2 separate regions of the Homo sapiens genome follow, and region 1 is linked to region 2. The links are contacts of gene promoters, found by promoter capture Hi-C in human tissues and cell types (Jung and others, 2019). All regions are on one chromosome and are shown on one strand. The core of a region is centred on a gene start or on the middle of the fragment in contact, and the rest is flanking DNA. Distances in the headings are between cores, read along the strand shown.

The links. The method cuts DNA at HindIII sites, captures the fragments that hold promoters and counts their contacts. A contact is called where the count stands out against the background at its distance.
Region 1: a fragment that was not itself captured here is called in contact with the fragment with the promoter of IGFL2 in region 2 in 2 of the 25 tissues and cell types used here (mesenchymal stem cells and pancreas).

The regions. Positions count from the first base shown.
Region 1 is chr19:46,045,192-46,047,891 of GRCh38, reverse strand. It overlaps a transcript of IGFL4 not described here. Among named protein-coding and RNA genes, the nearest start is that of IGFL4, 5.5 kb to the right of the region's middle. The HindIII fragment of the contact is 3,232 bases long and covers 1-2,700 here.
Region 2 is chr19:46,146,961-46,149,660 of GRCh38, reverse strand. IGFL2 (IGF like family member 2) reads right to left here and starts at 1,423. Exons shown (of 4, transcript NM_001135113.2): 1 at 1,364-1,423. The coding sequence starts at 1,382. The HindIII fragment of the contact is 7,392 bases long and covers 1-2,700 here.

The DNA of each region.
Region 1 (2,700 bases), core at 64-2,563, 100 kb after region 2:
ACTTTCAATTTTTTGGAATAGTTTCCGTAGAAATTGTACCAGATCTTTGTACTTCTGGTAGAATTCAGCTGTGAATGCTTCCAACTTTGGGCTTTTTTTGGTTGGTAGGCTATTTATTACCCCCCAATTTCGGAAATCATAATTGGTCTATTCAGGGATTCAGTTTCTTCTTGGTTTAGTCTTGGGAGGGTGTATGTGTCTAGGGATGTATCCATTTCTTCTAGATTTTCTAGTTTATGTGCATAAAGGTGTTTATAGTATTCTGTGATGTTTGTTTATATTTCCGTGGGGTCAGTGGTAATATCTCCCTTGTCATTTCTGATTATGTTTATTTGATTATTCTCTCTTTTCTTCTTCATTAGTCTGGCTAGCAGTCTATCTATTTTATAAATTTTTTCAAAAAAACAGCTCCTGGATTCATTAATTTTTTGAAGGGCTTTTTGTGTTTCTATCTCCTTCAGTTATTGCTTATTTCTGTTAACCAATAACTTATCTTGGTTATTTCTTGTTTTCTGCTAGCTTTGGGGTTGGTTTGCTCTTGGTTCTCTAGTTCTTTTAGTTGAGATGTTAGGTTGTTAACTTGAGATCTTTCTAGCTTTCTGATGTGGGTTATTTATTGCTATAAATTTCCCTCTTAACACCACTTGAGCTGTGTCCCAGAGAATCGGGTACATTGTCTCTTAGTTCTCATTAGTTTCAAGAATTTCTTGCTTTCTGCCTTGATTTCATTATTTACCCAAGAGTTATTCAGGAGCAGATTGTTCAGTTTCCATGTAGTTGTGTGGTTTTGAGTGAATTTTTAAATCTTGATTTCTAATTTGTTGTGCTGTGGTCTGAGAGACTGTTTGTTATGACTTCAGTTCTTTTGCTTTTGCGAGGAGTGTTTTACTTCTGATTTTGTGATCAATTTTAGAGTGAGTGCCATGTGGCAATGAGAAGAATGTATATTCTGTTGTTTGGGGTAGAGAGTTCTGTAGATATCTATCAGGTCCACTTGATCCAGAGCTGAGTTCAGGTCCTGAATATCTTTGTTAATTTTCTGTCTCGATGATCTAATATTGACAGTGGGTGTTAAAGTATTCCACTATTGTTGTGTGGGAGTCTTAAGTCTCTTGTAGATCTGTAAGAACTTGCTTTATGAATCTGGGTTCTCCTGTATTGGATGCATATATATTTAGGATACTTAGCTCTTCTTGTCCAATTGATCCCTTTACCATTATGTAACACCCTTCTTTGTCTTTCTGGATTTTTGTTGGTTTAAAGTCTGTTTGGTCAGAAACTAGGGTTGCAACCCATGCTTTTTTCTGTTTTCCATTTCCTTGATAAATTTCTCCTCCATCCCTTTATTTTGAGCCTATGTGTGTCCCACATGTGAGATGGGTCTCTCGAAGACAGTATATCAATGGGTCTTGGCTCTTTATCCAACTTGCCATTCTGTGTCTTTTAATTCAGGAATTTAGCCCACTTACATTTAAGGTTAGTATTGTTATGTGTGAATTTGTTCCTGTCATCATGATGCTAGCTGGTTATTTTACAGACTTGTTTTGTTGGTTGCTTCATAGTGTTACTTGTCTGTGTATTTCAGTGTGTTTTTGTAGTGGCTGGTAAAGGTTTTCCCTTTCCATATTTATTGCTTCCTTCAGGAGCTCTTGCAAGGCAGGCTTGGTGGTGACGAATTCCCACAGCATTTGCTTGTCTGAAAAGGACCTTATTTCTCCACTTATGAAGCTTAGTTTGGCTGGATATGAAATCCTGGGTTGGAAATTCTTTTAAGAATGTTGAATATTGGCCCCCAATCTCTTCTGGCTTGTAGGATTTCCACTGAGAGGTCCGCTGGTAGTCTGATGGGCTTTTCTTTGTAGGTTACCTGGCCTTTCTCTCTGGCTGCCCTTAACATTTTTTCTTTCATTTCGACAATGAAGAATCTGCTGATTATATGTCTTGGGGTAAATCTTCTTATGGAGTATCTCACTGGGGTTCTCTGTATTTACTGAATTTGAATGTTGGCCTGTCTTGCAAGTTTGGGGAAGTTCTCCTGGATGATATCCTGGAGTATGTTTTCCAACTTGGTTCCAATTTCCCTGTCTCTTTCAGGTACCCCAATCAGTCATAGATTCTGTCTCTTTACATATTTCTCAGAGGTTTTGTTCAGTTCTTTTTGTTCTTTTTTCTCTATTCTTGTCTGCCTGTATAATTTCAGAAGGACGGTCTTTAAGCTCTGAAATTCTTTCCTCTGCTTGAACTATTCTGTAACTGATACTTATGATTGCATTGTGAAGTTCTTGTGTTTTCCAGTTCCATTGGGTCAGTTATGTTCCTCTCTAAACTGGCTATTCTGTCAGCTCCTGTATAATTTATCATGATTCTTAGCTTATTTGCAATGGGATACAACATCCTCCTTTAGCTCAGTGAAGTTCATTATTACCCATCTTTTTCTTTTTTTTTTTTGAGACAGAGTTTCACTCTTGTCACCCAGGCTGGAGTGCAGTGGCGCGATCTCAGCTCACTGTAACCTCTGCCTCCCGGGTTCAAGCGATTCTCCTGCCTCAGCCTCCTCAGCATCTGGGATTATAGGCATGTGCCACCATGCCCAGCTAACTTTTGTATTTTTAGTAGAGAGGGGGTTTCACCATGTTGGTCAGGCTGGTCTCTAACTCCTGACCTCGTGATCCACCTGCCTCGGCCTCCCAAAGTGCTGGG
Region 2 (2,700 bases), core at 174-2,673:
AAAAAAAAGTTACACGAAAGGTCACTTATAAATGGTGTGATTCCATTTATATGAAATGTCCCAGATAGGTAAATCCATAGAGACAGAAAGCTGACTGGTGGTTGCCAAGGGTGAGGGTAGAGGGGAAAGAGAGGAACAGCTAAATGGGCATGCGGTGGTCGGGGGCTATGGAGCCAGGTGACTCGGAGGTAAAAAGCAATTCTGGAAGATGACTGAGCTACTCTTCCTTCAACTTGAGAGAGGAAGGAAGAGAAGGAAGGAGAGGAGGGAAAAGACAGGGAGGGGAGAGGGGAAGAGAAGAGAGGGGGATGTGAGACAGAGGGACACAGGGAGATGGGGAGGGGAGGGGGAGGGGGAGAGGGGAAGAGGGGGAGAGGTGGAAAGGGTGAGGGGTGAGTGGGAAAGAGAAAGAGAGAGAGAGAGAAAAGGGAGAGAGAGAAAAGAGAGGGAGAGAGAAAGAGAGGGAGAGAGAAAGAGAGAGAGAAGAGAGAGAGAGAGAAGAGAGAGAGGGAGAGAGAGAGATGGTTGCCCAAAAAGAAGTTAGTGAACACAGCAGGCATTGCTCATCTTGATGGAATACACACAACAAAACTCAGTCCACTGCCTGGGCTGCCCTTACTTACCCAGCACACTCCTGGGGTAGTCGGTCCTCATGCCTGAGACACTGAACCTCATGATTTCCTGGCGCTGAGAGCCCAGGAACTCCAGGCAATAGTGCCTGGGCTACAGGGCTGGGTCTGGTTCGAGGGCAGGATGATCCCCTCATCACAGTCCCAACAGATTGCAGATCTAGTCTCCACTCCTGAGTGTCAACTGGCACAACCACAGTCCAATATCTGGAAGAGTCAGAGCTGATGAGCTGGCAGGGGACCTCTGGGAGCCCCCAACCCTATCCACAGTGCTATAATCCTCCCTCCTTTCTTCTCCCTCCACTCACCACACCCATTCTCACCTATGGTCCCTTCTGAGTCTGAGCCCAGGAGTTCAAAAATAAAGATCAGCTGAGAGAAGAATGACAGTGATTCTGGGGTCACCAGATCATGATCATGGGGCACAAGATGATGTCTCTGAGTTTCTTTGGTTGCTGTAACAGCTCAGAGCAGATTTTGGGACTGACTCTGTGTGCAGGTTCTGGGCATTGGGCTTGGCAGGTGAGGAAATGCAGGGAGGGCTCTGGAAAGGGTTAAGCTTCTGGAATTTGCAGGTGGGGAAGAGAGATTGCAATGCAGTCAGAGAGGACACGGGTGATTATGAGGTGGGAAACCAAGAATTAAATAGGGAAGAGAGAATTAAGTTTGAGGTTCAGAGGTACATTAGGGATAACAGTAGGCATTAGCTCAACCTGGGGCAAGGGTTACCTTACCGAAGATTCTGGGCACCATGGAGCTTCAGAGCAGCTGATGGGACAGCAGCAGTGCAAATGGGTCAGTGACTTTATACAGGGACTTATGTAGGCTATGAACTTATCCACATTTAGGGAGGTGCCCAGAAGCACTGGCCTCTTGGAAAGGGTGGGGCATGAGAAGCCACAGAAAGCATAAGAAAAAACTGCATCAACAGCTTAGTAAGATGTTCCTGGACCTGTTCCAAGTGACTGCTACCTTCTCAGACCTCTCGAAATCTCAGAGTAAAGGCTTCCCTAGAACCTTTCAAAGCCGTGAGTGAGTGTCATTCTTTGAACTCTGCCCACGGCAAAGAGACTTGAAAGAGATTCCTTGGCTCTCACTTATCTGAGAGCATACTACTCACCAAACATCACAGCTGGTGATGAAACTTCATATTCATCCACCCTGAAGTTTCAAGGGGTCCCTCTACTCCCCATCTCAGTCCGGCTCCAGACCTGCACTATGAGAAACAAACGCACCCGTCCAAACCCAAAGAATGGACTCAGAGACACAGAAAACAGTGGAAGCAAGACTTTTAATGATGGTCTTGCAAGATTGAATGTCTGGTAGGCAGGCACACCCAGTACGGTTACAACAAGCTATTTATCCCCTAGTGCACAAGTCTCTCCCCTGGTTCCTCGTAGGCTAAGTACGATGGGGTCACGATCTTCCCAGACGTCGCCTATTGGTTGCTGGGTTGAGGCTTTTAGGTGTTTTCTTTAGGATTGTCTCACTGCATTTTGTTGCAGCCTATAATACATTGCAATCAAAGCCAGCTCGAGGGCTTTTCAAGTATTTGACTTATGACCTAGGCAGTCAGGCAAGCTGATAAGAATAGATAAAGTGAGCTATTTTGCTGGCTAGTAAACTTTCATTCTAGACTAAACTCTGGTTTGGGAGAGGGTAACTAAGGGGACCCCGACAAGCATGCACCAGCTATGGGCCTAGTATATTCTGTCCTTCCATAGTTTGTGGGCCTCAGCCTATCTGAGGTACTTTGTCTTGGAAATGGACCACCATATCCATTATTATAATTGTAGACAGCACTGTCTATAATTCTTCAGAGTCATTTAGGGGAAACTGTGAAGATGCAGCATAATCTAGAAAAAGAGCAGGGGCTGTAAAAACCCTGCCAGGGAGAACAGAAAAGGAACAGACAGTGATAAAATAGACATCTGGGATTCATAGAATAGATGGAAAGGCAGCCCCTTTTTGTTGTTGTTTCTGGAGTGCTTTGTCCAAGGAAACGCTCCTTCTGTGTTTCTTACTGTTATTTTATTGTCACCATCACTATTATTTGTGTCACTGGATACCA